Regions from separate parts of the Homo sapiens genome. Here regions 1 and 2 are each linked to region 3. The links are contacts of gene promoters, found by promoter capture Hi-C in blood cells and fetal thymus (Javierre and others, 2016). All regions are on one chromosome and are shown on one strand. The core of a region is centred on a gene start or on the middle of the fragment in contact, and the rest is flanking DNA. Distances in the headings are between cores, read along the strand shown. Region 1 holds the start of LOC112694756 (uncharaterized LOC112694756). Region 2 has its middle 1.7 kb from the start of TMEM219. Region 3 holds the start of MVP (major vault protein).

Region 1 (2,830 bases), core at 270-2,769, 230 kb after region 3:
AAGTGTCTGTGTGTGTGTGATCTAAAAAGGTTAGGAATGAAACGGGGAGGTCTGAGTGCCTTGAAAGCCAAGGAAATTAGGACGTGTGGAAAACAATGCTTCATTCGTGGATGGTGTTTGGTTTCAATTCATTCATAGAATCAGTGAGTATTGGCTGAGTGCAGTGGCTCTGGCCTGTAATACCAGCAACCTGGGAGGCCGAGGTGGGAGGATCATTTGAGGCAGGAGTTGGAGACTAGCCTGGCCAACATAGTGAGACCCCATGTCTACTTTATTAAAAGAAAAAAACAGGCCAGGCGCAGTGGCTCACACCTGTAATCCCAGCACTTTGGGAGGCCAAGGCGGGCAGAACACCTAAGGTCGGGAGTTCGAGACCAGCCTGACCAACATGGACAAACCCCGTCTCTACTAAAAATACAAAATTAGCTGGGCATGGTGGCACTTCCAGCTACTCTGGAAGCTGAGGCAGGAGAATTGCTTGAATCCAGGGCGGAGGTTGCAGTGAGCTGAGATCACACCATTGCACTCCAGCCTGGGCGACAAGAGCAAAACTCCGTTTCAAAAAAAAAAAAAAAAAAGAAAAGAAAAGAAAAAAGAAAGAAAGAAAGAAAAAGAATCAGTGAGTATTCACCAAGGCTCCCAGGGCTAGGCCAAGTACTAGAGCTCAGGATACGGAGATGACTCAGACCAGGCCCCAGACACTTGCAGTCTAATTGTGGAGCCAGACATGGAAGTGAGGAATTCAAGTATCTTGTGAGAAGTGCGAGAACAACAGTATCTGTAGGATGCTGTGGGAATTCACAGTCCAAAGCAGCCACCTCTGCCTGAGGTTGGCAGGGAGACCTCACAGAGGCAAAACTGAGGACGTGCTTGAGGGATGAGGAAGAGGTTTGAGGGGAAGACAGAGGGTGTTCCAGGCAGAGGGATCAGCAACTGCAAAGCTGTGGAAATGTGAGACCCTACACACTGGTTCAGGAAGCTTCAGCAGATCCTACTGAAGGTGGCTTATGCCTGTAATCCCAGCTACCTGGGAGGCTGAGGCTGGAGGACTGCTTGAGCCCAGGAGTTCAAGACCAGCCTTAACAACATAGCAAGACCACATCTCTAAAAATTCAGAAAAAAAGGCTGGGCACAGTGGCTCATGCCAGTAATCCTAGCACTTTGGGAGGCCAAGGCGGGCGGGATTGCCTGAGGTTAGGAGTTCGAGACCAGCCTGGCCAACATGGTGAAACCCCGTCTCTACTAAAAATACAAAAATTAGGTGTGCGTGGTGGCAGTCGCCTGTAATCTCAGCTACTCGGGAGGCTGAGGCGGGAGAATCGCTTGAACCCAGGAGACATAGGTTGTAGTGAGCCAAGATCACACCATTGCACTCCAGCCTGGGAGATGAGCGAAAATCTGTCTCCAAAAAATAAATAAATCAATTAATAAATAAATCAGTAAAAAAGAACCGGGCCCGGCGCGGTGGCTCACGCCTATAATCCCAGCACTTTGGGAAGCTGAGGCGGGCGCATCACTTGAGGTCAGGAGTTCGAGACCAGCCTGGTCAACATTGCGAAACCCTGTCTCTACTAAAAATACAAAAATTAGCCGGGTGTGGTAGTGCGCGCCTGTAATCCCAGCTACTCGGGAGGCTGAGGCAGGTGAATCACTTGAACACGGGAGGCGGAGGTTGCAGTGAGCCGAGATCGCGCCACTGCACTGCAGCCTGGGCGACAGAGCGAGACTCCGTCTCAAAAATAAATAAATAAATAAATAAATAAATAAATAAATAAATATAAATAAAATATAAAAAGTAGCATTGATGTTTACAATATCCCTGAGCGGCAGGCGTTTCTCCCTTTTGCAGATGCTCAGTGGCTTGGCCGGAGATACATCCAAGTGGTGGGTGTAGCCTGGGGGTTCAATCCTCCTGTGGCGCCCCAGAACCCGGTGCCTCCTCCAACGTCCGGCATCTGATGAGGATCCGACCCAGGCGGGCGGCGGCGGGATTCGCTCTTCCCCTTCGCTCCCCGCGAGAAAGCCCCGAGGGCCGCGGCGGCGCAGAGCCGGTGACAGTTGAAGCTTAGGCGGGAAGAGGGAGGCGCGAGGCGGGAAGAGGGAGTTTGGGCCTCGGCAGCCGCCGTACAAACACCGCTCTGGTCACCATGGCAACAGCGGGATGCCGCGAACGGCTTCTGGGCGGGGCCGGTCCCTCGGACGATTGGACCTAGCTTGGCGCGGAATCCGTGAATTGCCCGCGGCCCGAGGGTGCAGGTGATGGGTGCTGACCGACTGGGGAAGCCCGGAGTGTGGGGACTGAGGAGGGGAGTGGCCTGGGGCGCGCTGGAGCCTGCGAGGAAGGCGCCGCCTCGGATCCCCCGCCCCCCATTCCCCTTCCCGAATTCCACCCTCCGGCCCAGCCATGGCCTCAGTTTCCCCAAACAGGAAAGGGAAGGAGGGTGGGCACCCCGGTCTAACGGTGCCTCTCAGCCTCTGAGACCCAGAACCTTCCTTCTGCAGCTCCCGGACTGACTGGCTCTGCCCTTCCCCATGGACGTAAGTCCGGGCCCCTTCCCCTCTCTGGGCCCCCTCAGCGCCCTCTCCTAACCCCGAATGGGCCTGTCTTCCAGCACGGACTGGGGAGGGGGCTTCTACCCAACAGAGACTACAACCTGCCAGCTCAGGACGAGAGCTGTCAGGAAGAGTCCAGGAATGGACTTCCCACGGGAGGGCACATTTCTGGTATTCCTGGCAAGATAAGGAGTTGACTAAGTAATCCACGAGAAAAGGCATTTCCGGCAGAGGAAACAGTCTGGGGGTGAGAGGGAGGCTGCAGCATTTGGGGAAC
Region 2 (2,828 bases), core at 162-2,661, 140 kb after region 3:
TGCTGTGGTCAGGCTTAAATCATAACCCAACTTCTGCCACCTAATATATGTATGACCTTGGTTAAATTAAACCAGCAGTCCCCAACCTTTTTGGCACTGGGGACCAGTTTCATGGAAGACAATTTTTCCACCAGGGGAGGAATGGTTTCGGGATGATTCAAGCACATTACATTTATTTTGCACTTTATTTCTATTATTATTACATTATAAGGTATAATAAAATAATTATACAACTCATCATAAAGTAGAATCAGTGGGATCCCTGAGTTTGTTTTCCTGCAACTAGATAGTCCCATCTGATGTTGATGGGAGACAGTGAGAGATCATCAGGCATTAGATTCTCATAAGGAGCAACCTAGATCCCTCGCATGCGCAGTTCACAATAGGATTCATGCTCCTATGATAATCTAATGCCGCTACTGATCTGACAGGAAGCAGAGCTGAGGCGGTAATGCAGGCAATGGGGAGTAGCTGTAAATACAGATGAAGCTTCTCTCACCAGCCATTCACTTCCTGCTGTGCGGCTCAGTTCCTAACACGTCACGGACTGGTACTGGCCCCACGGCCCAGGGGTTGGGGACCCCTGACTTAAACTAAGGGCCAGCTTTCCAGAATAACATCCACTTTGAGGGCTTGTTGAGTGGATTAAGTCAAAATGTTGGTATACTTGGCTGGTGCGGTGGTTCACACCTGTAATCCCAGCACTTCGTGAGTCTGAGGCGGGTGGATCACCTGAGGTCAGGAATTTGAGACCAGCCTGGCCAACATGATGAAACCCCATCTCTACTAAAAATACAAAAAATTAGGCCGGGCGCGGTGGCTCACGCCTATAATCCTAGTACTTTGGGAGGCCAAGGCGGGTGGATCATTTGAGGTCAGGAGTTTGAGATCAGCCTGGCCAATATGGTGAAACCCTGTCTCTACTAATAAGTACAAAAATTAGTCAGGTGATAGTGGCGTGTGCCTGTAATCTCAGTTACTCGGGAGGCTGAGGCAGGAGAATCCCTTGAGCCTGAGAGGCAGAGGTTGAGGTGAGCTGAGATTGGGCTGTTGTTGAGTTGTAGGAGTTCTTTATATATTATAGATATTAACCCCTTATAAGATATATGATTTGATATTTCCTCTCATTCTGTTGGTTGCCTTTTCACTGTCCTTTCCTTTTTTTGTTTTTGTTTTTTGTGGGGCAGAGTTTTGATCTTTTGCCCAGGCTGGAGTGAAGTGGTGCAATCTCAGCTCACTGCAACCTCCACTCCCCAGGTTCAAGCGATTCTCCAGCCTTAGCCTCCGGAGTAGCTGGGATTATAGGCGCCCGGCACCATGCCTGGCTAATTTTGTACTTTTAGTAGAGATGGGGTTTCACCATGTTGGCCAGGCTGGTCTCAAACTCCTGACCTCAGGTGATCCACCCGCCTCGGCCTCCCAAAGTGCTAGGATTACAGGCTTGAGCCACCGTGCCCAGCCTGTTGTGTCCTTCGATGCACAGAAAAGACTCTTTTCTCTACTGAACGCCCACAGCACCCTTGTCAAAAATCATTTGACTAGTCAGGGCACAGTGGCTCACGCCTGTAATCCCAGCACTTTGGGAGGCCGAGGCGAGAGGACTGCTTGAGGTCAGGAGTTCGAGACATGCCTGGGCAACATGGCAAATGGCAAAACCCCGTCTCTACACACAATGCAAAAGTTAGCTGGGCATGGTGGGTGGCGTGTGACTACCGGCTGTCTCAACTACCCAGGAGGCTAAGGCGGGAGGATCTCTTGAGCCCAAGACGTCCAGACTGCAGCGAGCTTTGATTGTGCCACTGAACTCCAGCCTGGGCGATGACAGAGCAAGGCTCTGTCAAAAAAAAAAAAAAAAAAAAAAAAAAATCGGCCGGGTGTGGTGGTTCACGCTTGTAATCCCAGCACTTTGGGGGGCCGATGCGGGCAGACCACGAAGTCAAGAGATCAAGACCATCCCGGCCAACATGGTGAAACCTCGTCTCTACTAAAAATACAAAAATTAGCTGGGCGTGGTGGCGTGCGCCTGTAGTCCCAGCTACTCGGAAGGCTGAGGCAGAAGAATAGCTTGAATCCGGGAGGCGGAGGTTGCAGTGAGTCGAGATCGCGCCACTACACTCCAGCCTGGCGACAGACTGAGACCCCGTCTCAAAAAAAAAAAAAATCATTTGTATATGCGAAGGTTTTGTGCCACAAACTTTTGTGGCTGTTGATACAAACGACATGGCCTCTGCCTTAAGGAAGCCACAGTCGAATTAAATAGATTCCGTTTCAAGTAGCATCTGTCCTGTGTGCTTAGTGGGCACTGGGCCCATGTTTTCCCACATTTTACCCTTTAAGCTTCTGATCCAACCGGTGAGATAGATAGGATGATCCTCTTTAGTAGAGGGGTAAGCTTAGTCCCCTGAGAGCGCGGCTATGGCTTATGCGAGGGTACGGACAGTCAGGATTTGAACCCAAAGTTCCTGGCTCCATGTGTCATGCTACCTCCAGTCAGATGTTCTCACCTCCAAAACTTGGGCAGAAGTGAACTGAGATGCTCTCTACTGAGCAACTCTTCAGCTCCAGCATCCTATACATTAAGGAGTCACTAAAAGTCAGGGTCCACGAGAAAGGTGCAGATCGGGGTGCACAGAAGAGCGGAGTCCAAAACACCACTCCCAGCCCCAGTGGACAGAGTCCTCAAGTGGCAGCCCTGCAACTCTGAGCGGATGCCGAGTCCTCACCGGGAACCCGGGCGCGGCTGGTCTGTGCTATTGGCGCGGGTAGGGGACGCACAGCCCAAAAATGCCCGCGACAAGCTTCTGGGGCAGTTCTCGCCAGTCTCTCTG
Region 3 (2,700 bases), core at 169-2,668:
GGAGTGCAGTAGTGCGATCTTGGCTCATTGCAACCTCCACCTCCCGGGTTCAAGCGATTCTTCTGCCTCAGCCTCCCAAGTAGCTGGGATTACAGGCGCCCACCACCACGCCCAGCTAATTTTTTGTGTTGGCCAGGCTGGTCTCAAACTCCTGACCTCGTGAGTTGCCCACCTCAGCCTCCCAAAGTGCTGGCATTACAAGCGTGAACCACCATGCCCGGCCTGCACTCTTCTTTGAACAGAACTCTGTTCTTGTCCTGGGGCCTCTACCCTTGCCATTCCCCTGCCCAGTATGTTCCTCCCTGTTCTTCACATTACCTGTGCCTTCCTGTCAATCAAGATCTTTGCTTCTCACCCTCTCTGAGGTCCAACCCTGAACCTCAGGTCCTCCAAGACAGAGGCCTGGGGACCTGCATGTTTAACCAGCTCCCCAAGTGATGAGTGAGGTCCAGGCAGGTATGGTGTACACCACCTCCATCCCTTCCATGTATCTTACCTTCCTCTTCTCCAGGAAGCTCAGCCCGGAGCCAGAAACGGGAGGCCCGCCTGGACAAGGTGCTGTCGGACATGAAGAGACACAAGAAGCTGGAGGAGCAGATCCTTCGTACCGGGAGGGACCTCTTCAGCCTGGACTCGGAGGACCCCAGCCCCGCCAGCCCCCCACTCCGATCCTCCGGGAGTAGTCTCTTCCCTCGGCAGCGGAAATACTGATTCCCACTGCTCCTGCCTCTAGGGTGCAGTGTCCGTACCTGCTGGAGCCTGGGCCCTCCTTCCCCAGCCCAGACATTGAGAAACTTGGGAAGAAGAGAGAAACCTCAAGCTCCCAAACAGCACGTTGCGGGAAAGAGGAAGAGAGAGTGTGAGTGTGTGTGTGTGTTTTTTCTATTGAACACCTGTAGAGTGTGTGTGTGTGTTTTCTATTGAACACCTATAGAGAGAGTGTGTGTGTTTTCTATTGAACATCTATATAGAGAGAGTGTGTGAGTGTGTGTTTTCTATTGAACACCTATTCAGAGACCTGGACTGAATTTTCTGAGTCTGAAATAAAAGATGCAGAGCTATCATCTCTTAAAAGGAGGGGCTGTAGCTGTAGCTCAACAGTTAGGCCCCACTTGAAGGGAGAGGCAGAATTGTACTCACCCAGATTGGAAAATGAAAGCCAGATGGGTAGAGGTGCCCTCAGTTAGCACCTGTCCCATCTCGGGCCCTCCAACTCCTCCCAGTCCCACTCCAGTGCAGCCAGCTGGCTCCAAGGTAGAAACCCATGAGCACTCAGGGAGCAGTGTGCCTTCAGCTGCAGCAGAAGCAGCCCGGAGGATAAAATGAGAACCAGCTGCACACGGGCCCTTTAACTCCCAAGCCCCACCCCTGGGCTTGGCCTGCCTTGCCCTGCCGGGAAGTGATCCCCAAGGCAGGGTGAGAGTTCCCCATCTGAGGCGTTTGTTGCAGCTACCTGCACTTCTAGATGTGAGTACATTGTACTAGCCCCCCAAACCCCAAATCAGGGGCAGATCTTTGTATCCCTTGAGGCTCTCTTTAGTCCTGTCTTGCTTTGAAGGGCCTTGCTTCTGCTGGGGCAGGGAAAACATGTCTGAATCAGAGTGGGGAAGGAGGATGGGTGGTGGCTTTGCTTTTGGAGGTTTCACTTTCCAATAGTTGGGAGTCTTCTGGGTTTTGAAGTAAAGGCAGATTAACACCAACACCGGTCCCCCACCCCCCTGCAACTCTCAGGCCTCTCTCTGACTTCAGGGTCCCACCTGGGAAATCAGGTGGGGAACCTTACAGGGTCATTCAGACCCCATCTTAGCCCTAGATCGGTGCTTGCTCTACTCACCTGCACTGTCCTGGGGACCTGGGCTCTGGCCTGTCACCTTGAGCTCCAAGAATGTGACCTGTACCCATTCAGGCCCCTTAACTCTGACAGATGAGGGTTTCTTACTCCTCCATGCAGGGCTGGGCCAGCTGTTGGTCTCAGTCGATCATTCAGGAAGTCATTAGCAGAGTGATTTCCAGAAGGCGTAGAATTTAGTGACCAAGGTTCTTTCCTTTTTGGGAGGAGAAAGTGAAAACTAGGATGCTCAGCTGGACCCACCAGCCTGAGATTCTGGGGATTTTAGAGCTGTCCCTTGGGGAGCCAAGCACTTGGGGGTGGAGGTGATAGCGAGGCTGATGGCCCCTGTGTTCTCAGCTCTCTGCCTGGGTAGCCCCTGGGTGATGGGGGAGAGGCCAGCTGTCACGTGGGGTATCAGGTGGCTCTGCCAGAAACTCCCTTGGCACACAGAGCACTGGGTCGGCCCTCGGGTGTGGCTGTTTGGGCAGGACAGCCCTCTGTATGTAGCCTTGAGCAGGTAGGGGGGCCACCTTGAGTGGGTGGCCCAGAGACAGCCTCAGGGCTCCAAGGTAACGGGGTGCTCAGGTTATCTTGGGTGCTGCCCTCCCAGGTTCTGGGGGAGCAGAGGCTGGGCGCTGGCCCAACTTACAGGAAACACTCACCTTTGAACTGCCATTAGCACCATCTGGGCAGTACACAGCCCCACCCAGGTCCTCTAGTTCTTGTTCTCGGCTTAGAATCTTTGTGTTTCTGCCTGAGAAGCCACTGCCTCCTAGTTTGTGGTCTCTACAGTTATAGCCAGGTTGGACTTCCGGCTCCGTCCTTTGATAACTGTGTGCTCTTGGGCAAATTTCTTAACTTGCAGGTTC

Evidence for each region. Contacts are between HindIII fragments. The CHiCAGO score rates a contact against its expected background, and 5 or more counts as called.
Region 1: a contact is called between a fragment that was not itself captured here and the fragment with the promoter of MVP in region 3, in 4 of 17 cell types (M0 macrophages, megakaryocytes, fetal thymus and 1 more). The highest score is 6.6, in M0 macrophages.
Region 2: a contact is called between a fragment that was not itself captured here and the fragment with the promoter of MVP in region 3, in 1 of 17 cell types (M0 macrophages). The highest score is 5.7, in M0 macrophages.

The regions. Positions count from the first base shown.
Region 1 is chr16:30,050,962-30,053,791 of GRCh38, forward strand. LOC112694756 (uncharaterized LOC112694756) reads left to right here and starts at 2,190. Exons shown (of 14, transcript NM_001365304.2): 1 at 2,190-2,256; 2 at 2,503-2,538. The coding sequence starts at 2,533. It also overlaps a transcript of TLCD3B not described here. RefSeq lists an enhancer at 2,593-2,830. The HindIII fragment of the contact is 1,085 bases long and covers 978-2,062 here.
Region 2 is chr16:29,958,998-29,961,825 of GRCh38, forward strand. No RefSeq gene overlaps it. Among named protein-coding and RNA genes, the nearest start is that of TMEM219, 1.7 kb to the right of the region's middle. RefSeq lists an enhancer at 2,455-2,564. The HindIII fragment of the contact is 1,848 bases long and covers 488-2,335 here.
Region 3 is chr16:29,819,044-29,821,743 of GRCh38, forward strand. It overlaps MVP (major vault protein), which reads left to right and starts at 1,419. Exons shown (of 15, transcript NM_005115.5): 1 at 1,419-1,467. It overlaps PAGR1 (PAXIP1 associated glutamate rich protein 1), which reads left to right. Exons shown (of 3, transcript NM_024516.4): 3 at 512-2,700. The coding sequence ends at 711. MVP-DT (MVP divergent transcript) reads right to left here and starts at 1,324. Exons shown (of 4, transcript NR_186424.1): 1 at 1,141-1,324; 2 at 497-558. RefSeq lists enhancers at 1,063-1,132, 1,824-2,390, 1,853-2,142. The HindIII fragment of the contact is 7,186 bases long and covers 1-2,700 here.